Regions from separate parts of the Homo sapiens genome. Here region 2 is linked to region 1. The links are contacts of gene promoters, found by promoter capture Hi-C in blood cells and fetal thymus (Javierre and others, 2016). All regions are on one chromosome and are shown on one strand. The core of a region is centred on a gene start or on the middle of the fragment in contact, and the rest is flanking DNA. Distances in the headings are between cores, read along the strand shown. Region 1 holds the start of VIRMA (vir like m6A methyltransferase associated). Region 2 holds the start of POP1 (POP1 ribonuclease P/MRP subunit).

The links. The method cuts DNA at HindIII sites, captures the fragments that hold promoters and counts their contacts. A CHiCAGO score of 5 or more calls a contact.
Region 2: a contact is called between the fragment with the promoter of POP1 here and the fragment with the promoter of VIRMA in region 1, in 1 of 17 cell types (monocytes). The highest score is 9.4, in monocytes.

What each region holds. Positions count from the first base shown.
Region 1 is chr8:94,552,181-94,558,822 of GRCh38, forward strand. VIRMA (vir like m6A methyltransferase associated) reads right to left here and starts at 1,289. Exons shown (of 24, transcript NM_015496.5): 1 at 1,205-1,289. The coding sequence starts at 1,267. VIRMA-DT (VIRMA divergent transcript) reads left to right here and starts at 1,533. Exons shown (of 2, transcript NR_183271.1): 1 at 1,533-1,727. RefSeq lists an enhancer at 983-1,602. The HindIII fragment of the contact is 4,366 bases long and covers 355-4,720 here.
Region 2 is chr8:98,114,936-98,121,164 of GRCh38, forward strand. It overlaps POP1 (POP1 ribonuclease P/MRP subunit), which reads left to right and starts at 2,358. Exons shown (of 16, transcript NM_001145860.2): 1 at 2,358-2,455. RIDA (reactive intermediate imine deaminase A) reads right to left here and starts at 2,236. Exons shown (of 6, transcript NM_005836.3): 1 at 2,097-2,236. The coding sequence starts at 2,161. RefSeq lists enhancers at 2,341-2,390, 2,461-2,630. The HindIII fragment of the contact is 6,678 bases long and covers 1-3,982 here.

The sequences.
Region 1 (6,642 bases), core at 39-2,538:
ACTGTCAGTAAGAAATGCTAACTCAAAGTTCTCCAACTTTTGACTTTTACAAACCTATAAACCATTCGTTAAATTAGATCACAGCTGTCAACTTTTTATTTTGCCAAGTAAAGCATTATGATACAATCACTACCCACTATCATTACTATCTCATAAAAGAAAGAACATTTTAAACATTTTCCATTCAAATATTTATTGAGCACCTACATTTTGCTAATACTGTCCTAGGCACTGGAGATACAGCTGAGAAAAAGAGAAATTATATCTGTCCTCAAAAAGCTTGATACAAGAGCACACTTGATAAAAATAAAAGGAAAAAAATAATCTCCAAAGAAAGAACAGTTCTCTAAATTAAGCTTACATTAAGACAGAAAAATGTGAAGTTCGTTTTTTTTTTTAACAATTTCTCCGTAGACTTCATTCAAGTTCATTTTTGGTCTGCTTTCAGGAATCTTTAGTTAACCAGCTATGTTTAATCTACATATTGCAGGGCCAATTGTACATTAAGGGGCGCTCAAGTAGTTTTGTACAGAAATATTACTCCACAACATTCCACCTCCAACCTCAAAGGAGATGTCTGCTGATGAGTTTAACTATAATTCTCTCAACTCTCCCCTCTTCGCAAGTATTCTCCGTGAATGCATCTCATTCCTAATGTGTGAAATCTCTCCGAGAGACAAGTATTAAAGTTTCAGGCCAAATCGGAGAGCACCGTAATCCTAAACCAAGTAAGTGTCACAACTGGGGAACATAATTCCCGACAGAAAAGAGGCCAAAGAGAAAGGATTTAGAAACATCGTGATTCGGAAACCACGAAGCCAACGTAAACTGCTCAGACTCCGGCACTACTGTCAAACACTACTGGCAAACCAAGACCCCTCCCAAACGCCATCTGAGGTAAACCTGAGAACCCTGATCCTTCTCAAGGCCCAAACCTGACAGGAAAAATAAAAAATAAAGCCATGCAAGCAGAAAAGCCAACTCGACCAAAGACACGGAGGGCCCAAGTTAAAGCAAGGAAATGAAGGGGCTGCTGCAGCCCTCCCTCAGACGCGATGCTCACACAGCTCGGGGGAGGGTGTCTGTGTGTAAGCGAGAAATTAAAGAAGCAATCTGCAGAAGGAAAAGTGGAGAACGCCTAACGGTTTTTTTGTAAAGATCCCAAGTCAAGAAGCAGCGTCAGAATCAAGTCGCCAAGCCTTACCTCAGCGCTCGGGTGTTTAAAAGTATCTAAAAATAACAGCTCCATCGCCGAGTCCACCGCCATGTTTGCCGCGGGCGGGGAACAGGGGGGAGGACTTCCGGGGCAGCGCTCCAGCCTCCGCGACAGCGACTCAGGAGAGGGAGAAACAGAGGGACTTCCGGTGACCAGAGCACTAGCGCCGCAAACCTCGGCCTATCCCAACGCATCTTGTTGCCCGGAGTTGCCGGCCCCGCCTTTTCCAGCGCGGCGGAGGGCGCCCCCTAGAACGCAGAGGGGGGGCAGAGGGAAGTGAGATGGGGACTACGGGGTCTCCAGTGGTTCAAACCCTGTCGTTCCTCCGCGTTACAGAGCTACAGCGGTCTCCGGGTGGCGAAGTGCGGAGACGGGGTTTTGGAGACGGTGGATGGAGGAGGGGGAGGGAAAGCTGCCAACTTTGGATACCAACCCCGTACACCCACCGAAGGGGATGTCCCACTTTTTCCAGCGCTGGGAGCAAAAAGATAACAGTGAGCGAGGTTGAAAAGTAAGACATTGATTTAAATAGAAGAAAAACTGTTGTTTCAACCAACGAAGAGATTCTTTGTTTTCTTATCTGTAAAATGTGAAAAATCGTACCTAACCTACAGGGTGATTGTGAGGAGTAATTGAAATAAAATTCGAGGAATTGTGTAACGTGAAGTACCATGAACAATAAAACAGGAGGCAGAATGAAAAGTAAGCCTCTCTGTCGGGTGTTGATGAGCTTTGGAGCAACGAGATAAACTCAGCGGGTTTGGTAGTCTAAATGGCACAAACCCTTAGCAGAGCAACTAGGAAATAGCTTGTAAAATTACACGTGCCTACCACTCTTCTAGGAAAATTCTCGCCCACGTATCTACAAATACAAGAATATTCATAGCAAACTTTATAAGTTGCAAAAGAGCAGGAAACATAAGTGCCATTGACAGAAGTAATAAGTAAATAGTGGCGTATTTATATAATAGTATATAGCAGGTACGAAGAATGAACCAGTGCTATGTTTACTAGCATGAAAAACCCAAAAAACAGGGTTGGTGGGCGCTTTGGCTCACGCCTGTAATCCAGCACTTAGGGAGGATGAAGCGGGAGGATCGCTTGAGCCCAGGAGTTGGAGAACTGCCTGGGCAATATAGCGAGACCCCGTTATTCACAAAAAGAAAAAAAAAAGACACAAACCAAAACAAAACAAGTTTAACTCCTCTCATCGCAAGCCGGGTGCGGTGGCGTGTTCCTGTGGTCCCAACTTCTCGGGAAGCTGAGACAGGAGAATCTCTTAAGCCCAGGAGTTGGAGGCCAGTGGGGACACCCATCTCTTAGAAAAGGAAATAAAAAATATATAGTGTAAAATAACATCTATATATTTAAAAACGTGCAAAAGAATATAAAATTTTAGGAGTGTACATATGTCATGAAATTATAAAGTCATGTATTGGAGTAACTAAAATTTCAAGATAGTGGTAAACTGGAAGGAGATGTAATGGAGAAGAACAGAAAGGCTTCACATGCCTTGGTAATGTTTTGTTATTTAGGTTAATGTTAATTTCACAAGCATGCCTTATATTATTGTTTGTACCTTCTGGTATGTCTGAAATATTTAATAATAAATGAATTTCTAAAGTAAATCTCCTCTCCACATCCTTCCTCAGCCATCCAGTTTCCTCTATTAGCTAGCTATAGTTTATCTTTTATTATTTGTTCTTGCATTGATATTTATTGCTTTTAATATTTTTCTGTTTTCTGATTCTTGCCTCTTTTTTTTTTTAGAAACAGGGTCTTGCTTCGTTGCCCAGCCTGGTCTCAAACTCTTGGCTTCAAGCAATCCTCCTGCCTCAGCCTCCCAAAGTGCTGTGATTATAGGCGTGAGCCACCGTGCCCCCCCCCTTCTTCTGTGTTTAGGCTTATATGCTGTTCTCTAATTTCTACCACTGATGTTTATTTTTATTCATATTTCTTATTTATTACTATATGTATTTATATAAATTTTCCCCTAAGCTCTCCCTTAACCAATGTACTATATAGTGCTTTTATAGTTGTCATTTTTACAGTCTGATTTTCTTAGCATTGATATCCTTTTTTTTTTTACATTTTTATTTTTATTTCAACAGTTTTGAGGGAACAGGTGATGTTTGGTTGCATGGAAAAGTTCTTTAGTGGTGATCTCTGAGGTTTTGGTGCACCCATCACCTGAGCAGTGTATACTGTATCCAATGTGTATGTAGTCTTTTATCCCTCACTCCCTCGCCCACCCTTCCCCGCCGCCAGTCCCCAAAGTCCATTATATAATTCTTAGGAGTTTGCATCCTCATAGCTTAGCTCCTGCTTAATAGTGAGAACATGCCATGTTTTGTTTTCCATTCCTGAGTTGCTTCACTTAGAATGATGGTCTCCAGCTCCATCCAGGTTGCTGCAAATGCCATTATTTTGTTCCTTTTTGTGGTTGAGTTAGTAGTATTCCCATATATATTCCCATATATATATATATATATATATATATATATATATATATATATATATATGTAGTATTCCCATATGTATATATATGTATATACACCACATTTTCTTTATCCACTCGTTGGTCGATGGGCATTTAGGCTGGTTCTGTATTTTGGCAACTGTGAGCTGTGCTGCTATAAACGTGTGTGCAAGTGTCTTTTTCATATAATGACTTCTTTTCCTTTGAGTAGATACCCAGTAGTGGGATTATTGGATCAAATGGTAGTTCTACTATTAGTTCTTTAAGGAATCTACATACTGTTTTCCATAGTGGTTGTACTGGTTTACATTCCCACCAGCAGTGTAAAAGTGTTCCCCTTTCACCACATCCATGCCAACATCTGTTTTTTTTTATTTTTTAATTATGGCCATTCTTGCAGGAGTAAGGTGGTATCTCATTGTGGTTTTGATTGGCATTTCCCTGATAATTAATGATGTTGAGCATTTTTTCATTTCTTTATTGGCAATTTATATATATATATATATATATTTGTTGTTGTTGTTTTGTTTTGGTTTTTGAGACGGAGTCTTGCTCTGTTGCGCAGGCTGGAGTGCAATGACTCGATCTTGGCTGACTGCACCCTCTGCCTCCCTGGTTGAAGCAATTTTCCTGCCTCAGCCTCCTGAGTAGCTGGGACTGCAGGCGTGCACCACCACCCCCAGCTAATTTTTGTATTTTTAGTAGAGATGGGGTTTCACCATGTTAGCCAGGCTAGTCTTGAACTCCTGGCCTCAGACAATGCTCGCCTCGGCCTCCCAAAGTGCTGGGATTATAGGCGTGAGCCACTGTGTCCGGTGAATTTGTATATTTTCTTTTAAGAATTGTCTATTCATGTCCTTTGCCCACTTTTTGATGGGATAATTTATTTTTTTCTTGCTGATTTGTTTGAGTTATTTGTAGATTCTGGATATTAGCCCTTTGTTGGATACGTAGTTTGTGAAGATTTTTCTCCCACTCAATGGATTGTCTGTTTACTCTGCTGATTATTTCTTTTGCTGTGCAGAAGCTTTTTAATTTAATTAGGTCCCATCTATTTACCTTTGTTTTTGTTGTATTTGCTTTTGGATTATTGGTCATGAACTCTTTGCCTAAGCCAGTGTGTACAAGAATTTTTCCTATGTTATCGTCTAGAATTTTTAGTTTCAGGTCTCAGATTTAAGTCTTTGATCCATTGTGAGTTGATTTTTGTATCAGGCACAGATGGGGATCCAGTTTCCTTCTTCTACATGTGGCTTGCGAATCATCCCAGCACCATTTGTTGAATAGGGTGTCCTTTCCCCACTTTATGTTTTTGTATGCTTTGTCAAAGATCAGTTGGCTGTAAATATTTGGCTTTATTTCTGGGTTCTCTATTATGTTGCACTGATCTACATGCCTACTTTTATACCAGTACCATGCTGTTTTGGTAACTATAGCCTTGTGGTATAGTTTGAATTCAGAGGGTGTGTTGCCTCCAGATTTGTTCTTTTTGCTTAGTCTTGCTTTGGCTATCTGGGGTCTTTTTTTGTTTCATATGAATTTTAGGATTTTTTTTTCAAGTTCTTTGAAGAATGATGATGGTATTTGAATGCAAATTGCATTGAATTTATAGATTGCTTTTGTCAGTATTGTCATTTTCACAATATTGATTCTGAAGCAGCATCATTGTCTGGGGTAATACCCAAGGCTTGTTGTCTCACACCAAGGGAATCGAGGATGTGGACACACACATGAAGTGAGGTTTAATAGCACAAGAAAGAGAAAGGAGAACAGCTCCCTCTCTTGAAGGGGGGGAGGGAGAGAGAGGGAGAGAGACAGACAGACAGACAGACATGGGGGCAGCTCCCTAATGGGAATTCTAGCCCACGGGGGAGTGCACCAGATTTTATAGACAGGCTTGAGGAGGCAGTGTCTGATTTACATAGGGCCCACAGATTGGTTGGACCGGGTGTGATGTTTACATAGTGTGCGAGGAAGCTGGCTGCCCTACCCTAATCTTATTATGCAAATAGGCTTTCCACTTGGTCAGTACCATGTTGTCTGCTCCCTACTGCACACACGGTTGGAAAAGAAAAGGGAAGATGGAGCCACCATTTTGAACATGCCTAGTCCCAGGTGGCCTTTTCCTATTGGCACAACTGCTGGCATTCACCCATGCAAGCTTCCAGCTTGCTTGTACATGTGTGCAGCTCCATTTTACAGGCTGCTCTTTGTTAGAAACAAGATGATTTGGGGGCTGCTTTTCATTAAAAGGAAAACCTTACTGAGAACTTCCTCACCCTCACTATCTGCCTAAATAATTTCTCTTTAACTCCTATATCAAAATTCCGGCCCGGGCGCTGTGGCATATGCCTGTAATCCCAGCACTTTGGAAGGCTGAGGCGAGCAGATCACTTGAGGTCAGGAGTTCAAGACTAGCCTGGCCAACATGGCAAAACCCTAGCTCTACTAAAAATACAAAAATTAGCCAGGTGTAGTGGCATGTGCCTGTAGTCCCAGCTACTTGAGAGGCTGAGGCAGGAAAATTGCTTGAACCCAGGAAGCAGAGGTTGCAGTGAGCTGAGATTGTGCCATTGCACTCCAGCCTGGGTGACGGAGTAAGACGCCTCAAAAAATTAATTAATTAATTAAATAAATAAAATAAAATTCTTCCCATCCATGAGTGTGGGATGTGTTTCCATTTGTTTGTGTCATCTATTATTTCTTTCAGCAGTGTTTTGTAGTTTTCCTTGTAGAGATCTTTCACCTCCTTGGTTAGGTGTATTTCTAAGTATTTTATTTTATTTTTTTTGCAGATGCTGTAAAAGAGGTTGAGTTCTTGATTTGATTCTCAGCTTGGTCATTGTTGATGTAAAGCAGTGCTACTGATTTGTGTACATTGATTGTGTATCCTGTCAGATCTAGGAGCTTTTTGGATGAGTCTTTAGGGTTTTCTAGGTATACTGTC
Region 2 (6,229 bases), core at 1,108-3,607, 3.6 Mb after region 1:
AAGACTAGGCTCTAGTACCCATTTCCTAAATTCAAATTTTGTTACATCACTTTTTAGTGGTGTAACTTTTGGCAAATTATTTAATTTTGCACACATCAGTTTCTTCATCTGAAAAATAGGGACTATAATATAACCATGCACATAAATAACTTAGAACAGTGCCTGGTGCTGGCCAGGCATGGTGGCTGACACCTGTAATCCGAGTACTTTGGGAAGCCGAGGTAGGTGGATCGCTTTAGGTCAGGAGTTCAATACCAGCCTGACCAACACAGTGAAACCCTGTCTCTACTAAAAATACAAAAATTAGCCGGGTGTGGTGGCACCTGCCTGTAATCCCAGCTACTTGGGAGGCTGAGACATGAGAATCACTTGAATCTGTGGGGTGGAGGTTGCAGTGAGCTGAGATTGCACCACTGCACTCTAGCCTGGGCAACAGAGTGAGACTCTGCCTCCAAAAAAAAAAAAAAAAAAAAAAAAAAAGGGATAGTGCCCAATGCTGCTGAGTAAGCATCAGTAAATGTTAGCAATGATGACTCTACCCCGTTTGATTACATTAAGGAGAAAAAAAATCATCTTTAGAAAACAAATTAAAACATCACTTGAAAGTTTTTAATTAAACTTTTTTTTTTTTTTAAATAGAGATGGGGGTCTCACTATGTTGCCCAGGCTGGTCTTGAACTCCTGACCTCAAGCAATCCTCTTACCTCGGCCTCCCACAGTGCTGGGATTACAGGCGTGAACCACAGTACCCGGCTAAAGAAACATCACTCTTAACAAAGAGAGAGCAGGCCTCAGGTTTTGAGCCAACTGCAATATCTAGCTAAAATTTAATAATACCTTTTTTTAATTGAGTTTATTTTTTACTATTACTTTCTATTGAATTGTTTTCTATTTAGTGTACTGTTGTAAAGTTTCCTTTTTCAATTAACTTGTTAAATAAAATGAAGTGAGCCATCTCAAAGAAATAGGTTAAGTAAATTATAAGTGATATACAGATTTGGCAAACAAACAAACAAAAAAGACAGAAGTAGCACTTGAATTATGAAAACTTTCTCCCCAAAATCTTTATACCATGCATTCTTCTACCTCCATGCCCTCACTCAAGCCATTCCCTCTACCTGACTTCTACCTCCATGCCCTTCACTCAATGACTTCCTGTTGAAATCCTTAATAAATTAATTTAAAAATCAAACTTTACAACACTACTATAAATGACAAAACCAACCTTCAAAACCAAAGGACTACCTCTCACAAGGAACCTTCCTAAATCTTCTTTTTCCTCTTCCACCCCAAGTTAAAATCAATTTGTCTTTTTTCTCCTTTACTCCCTACCCCACTTGCCCTCTCACTTCTACTGCATTTTATTTATTTCCAAGTTTTCTATAATAATTCCTGTTCTGCCACATCTCAGTGCCTTTTCTCACAGCAGTAGGTTTAAAGGAGGGAGCTGTTGATGGGGCTCTTTTCAGTTGGGAGAGAGGCAGACCAAGTATGAAGCTAATGAAAGAAGTTGGTCATAAAGGACTGCATGTTTTATGATTCAATTTATAGGAAATGTCCACAACAAGCAAATCCATGAAGATGCAAGTAGATTGTCAGGGGCCGGGGGAGAGGAGAATGGGGAGTGAATGCTAATGGGGATGGGATTTATTTTTGGGGTGATGAAAATGTTCTGAAGAAAGTGGTGATGGCTGCACAACTCTGTGAGTATGGTCAAAACCACTGAATTGTACATGTTAAAGGGGGTGAATCTTACGGTACGTGAATTATATCTCAATAAAGCTGTTACCAAGAAAACAAAAACGACCCCCTCCCCCAAAACAAAACACAGGGTCTGAAGGCTTCTAACTGGGGAGAGCTTTCTGGCAGGCTGTGCTCCGCAGCGAGGCAGCCCCAGAACGAGCAAAGTCCCATGGAGTGCAGGTTCCTGGTCCCATCGTGGCTCCCAACTCTCTGTGGGTCTTCGGGCGCGTTGCTTACTTTCCAGGCTCAATTTCCTTGCGTGTTAGCTGGGGCTCCGGCCCGGAGTGGCCCCAACCCCGAATCCCCGAACCCGCACGCCCTGGGTCCGACACAGCTTCCACCAGCCACGTTACCTGTAGGGTCCAATGGCCCCTGGGGCTTTCGCGGTGCTGATCACCCTTCTGATCAAGGACGACATGGCTAAGCCTTCCCTCTTGCAGCCCCTTCAGGAGAAGAAGCCCCAGCACCAGCCCTGCTGGCTTCTTACTGGACTGACCAACCACAGCAGCGCCTCTGCCCCACAGCTCCCGCTGGGGGCGGGCTCGTGCGGCATTCTGGGAACTGTAGTTTCGGCGACGCTCCAGGCCACGTGGAGGAAGCGCCCGGTCTGGCGCATGCGCTCTCCAGCGCGCTCTCCAGGAGCTTTGGCTCGGTGGGTACTGTCGCGGAGGCTTGTCATTCTGACCCGGGGATTCCTCACAGCGTCTGGCAGGTTGGTCGTGAGGGGCTGGTGCCTTCCAGGATGCGAGTGTCGGGGGAACTGTATGCGGCGGCCCCCCTCCCGGCGCCCGTCTCCCCTCTTCATCGTTTCTCTCTCAGACTCCGCTGACCTCTTTCCTTGCTGCCTGTGCCCGGGGCCCCTCTCCCTGGTGTCGCATCTCCTTCGGCCCCTGCGCTGGAGCCCCCTACGTCAGTCATTTCCCTTCATTGCCCCGCCGGGTGGAGGCCGTCCTGGGAATGGGCTTGCATCCCCTCTTCTGCAACCCCAAATGACTAATATGGGTCATTCTGGCGACCACGCTGAGATCTGGGCGTTGGTCCTCCCGTGTTCCCTTTCCTGCTCCTCCTGTGTTCCCTTCTCTAGGGTGCTCCTCGGGCTTTACAAGGTCACTGTCTGAACAGAGCCCTAGTGATTGGGATATCATTTCAGAAAGAAAGATGGTGATCTGGAATGGCCCAGATCCCTTGTAAGTATTCTGCTGTGTCAGAAGGGGTGGTACTTGGCTAAATATTTCTTATCCTGTTAATATTTGCATTGTAAGTACGCTTCGTTTCTTCATTTATGCGGGCACTCATAGATATATGAGTCCCTACTTTGTGTAAGGCACTCTGCTAGATGCTAGGAGGAATGCAACAGTTAAAAAAAATAATAATAAAATCTCTGCCTTCCCTGCTTCCTAAAGATAATACAAGAAAATCTGCTTTATTCCCTCTCATTTTGTCCTACATACTGCTAAGGTTTTGGCCTTCCTACTTCCGGCTCAGGAACCTTCTGATCTTTTTCATTGGTTTGGGGCCTGGAATAAAAGACCTTTCAGTCTGGCCTCCCCTTGCCTATTCAAGTTTCATTGTCATCTACTCCCTTTTCCCACTAGAGTCCTCCTGTATTCACACTGTGGATTCCTGAATACTCTTTCTTCCTTATCTGTGCAAATTCCAGCTAACTGAAATTCTATTTTCTCTTTGACTTTTCCTACCAATTCACATTTTTTTCTTTTTCTTCTTTCCTTCCTTTCCTTTTCTTTTTCTTTGTTTTCTTTCTTTCAAGACAGGATCTCACTCTGTCACCCTGGCTGGAGTACAGTGGCATGATCTTGGCTCACTGAAACCTTGACCTCCTGGGCTGAAGCAATCCTCCAGCCTGAGCATCTCAAGTAGTTGGGATTACAAGTGCACACCAGCACGCCCGGCTAATTTTTGTATTTTCTGTGGAGACGGGGCTTCTTCATATTGGCCAGGCTGGTCTCCAACTCTTGGGCTCAAGCAATTCTCCCACCTCAGCCTCCCAAAGTGCAGGGATTACAGGTGTAACCATTATGCCCGGCCTCATTTTTTTTCTTTCCCTTGTCCTGTTTCCTATTGTGCTGTACCGCATAATTTAGTATTTTATTATATGAGATCCTATTTTCTAATTGTTATGTGTTTCAAGAATAGTGGATTGGAGAGGGAAGGGGTGGAAAAAAAAAAAAGAATAGTGGATAGAGTCAGACTGCCTGGTTTGAATCTCAGCACAATCACAAGCTTAGTAGCCTTGGACTGGTATATAAAATCTCTGTGCTTCGATTTCTTCATTTATAAGATGAGAATAATACTAGTGACCACAGAGTTGTGAGAATTAAATGAATAAGTCATGTAGAATAGTGCCTGCCACATCAAGTTCTCAATGCTGCCTAAGATGACAAAATTCTTATTCTACTTTGGAATTATACACAGCCTGAAACTATTGGGCACATAGTAGGTGCCCAAAAGTTTATTAAATCTGATTAAACTAGATAATTAAGACATATTTTTATTTACAAAATAATTCACCATTTAAGTTTTTAAATAAGAAGCTATTTTGGAGCATTACAAATGATTCAACTTGTGTAAAATATTTCTTGTGAAACAAGGTACCTTTATTCTTAAGACAGATTTTATATCAAGTCTGAATCACCAACTTTTTAGATCTGGAAGAAAATAGACATCATCTAGTTAGTTCCCAGGTTCTCAAACTGGGAACTAACTAACACCAAAGGTTGTGTCTGGCCAGAGGATACTAAGCTGTATCAGAAAACATAACGTATCCATTTTATTTGAAGATTTGGCGAAAATATTTTTATAAAGGCAGCACATATTTAGTGCTTATTAAAGTTTGACAAAACTGACTTGAAGGTGAAGGTAAGAGTTAAGATTCCTTCTGGAAACTTTTTTTTTTGAGACAGGGTCTTGCTCTGTCACCCAGGCTGGAGTGCAGTAATGTGATCAAGGCTCACTCACTGCAGCCTTGACCTCCCTGTCTCAAGCGATCTTCCCACTTCAGCCTCCCGAGTAGGTGGGACCACAAGCTCATAACTATGCCTAGCTTATTTTTTGATTTCTTTGTAGGGATGAGTTCTCACTATGTTGCTCAGGTTGGTTTCTCCTGAGCTCAAGCAATCCTCCCGCCTTGGCCTCCCAAAGTGCTGGGATTATAGATGTGAACCACCACACCAGGCCTCTGGAAACTTTTAAATTAAATCCTCAGACTTCATAAAGATGCATCCTATATTCATTCCCTTCTGCTGTTAGAGGACCACTGCCAGTTTGATTTCCTCATATTTTAGTCTGGACCCAAAGCTCAGGGATGTTCCCAAGGTTATCCTAATCCTCCAGCACCAACCTTTTCTTGGACCATTCTAATACTGAGGGGAGCTAGAGTTTCTATGGTGTTCTTGTCTAGCCTTGCTGGTGAGTTCTGATTCAAGCAGGTAACAGTAGGTTAACTAAGTTGTTTTGTAAAATATTTGGAATGGCTTTTAATGCAGACCGATCTGAATCATGTGCTTCACTAGCCAGCCAGTTCTGCAGAACTCCATTTACTTCCTTCATACTGTTTAATTTGAAAAATGTTTTTGCATGTAGATATAGCTGTCTTTCATTTAGTTGAAATTAGTGGAGTGAGACAGTGAAATGGCATCAATCCCTGCTATTTCATTTATTATTTAAGAATAATAGCTACCATAAACTGAGCATTTAGTTAGCATAAAGCCCCATGCTAAGTGAGTTGTGTATATGCATTTTGCAAAGCCAAAACCATGTACAGTATGTATATGTTTGTTCATTTTTTTATTTTGAGACAGAGTCTCACTCTATCGCCCAGGCTGGAGTGCAGTGGCGTGATCTCGGCTCACCACAATCTCCGCCTCCTGGGTTCAAAGGATTCTCGTGCCTCAGCCTCCCGAGCAGCTGGGATTACAAGCGCATGCCATCACACGTGGCTCATTTTTGTATTTTTTTTTTTTTTTCTTGAGACGGAGTCTTGCTCCGTCGCCCAGGCTGGAGTGCAGTGGCGCGATCTCGGCTCACTGGAAGCTCCGCCTACCGGGTTCACGCCATTCTCCTGCCTCAGCCTCCCGAGTAGCTGGGACTACAGGCGCCCGCCAACACGCCCGGCTAATTTTTTGTATTTTTAGTAGAGACGGGGTTTCACTGTGTTAGCCAGGATGGTCTTGATCTCCTGACCTTGTGATCCTTCTGCCTCGGCCTTCCAAAGTGCTGGGATTACAGGCGTGAACCACCGCTCCCGGCCTCATTTTTGTATTTTTTAGTAGAGATGGGATTTCACCATGTTTGCCAGGCTGGTCTTGAACTCCTGGCCTCAAGTGATCCACTCGCCTTGGCCTCCCATAGTGCTGGGATTACAGGCATAAGCCATCCCACCTGGCCTGTATATAATGTTTAATTCTCACAGCAACTTGTAGAGGAAGAGGCTGAGGCTGAAAGTGAGAAAGTAATTTTCCTAAGATTA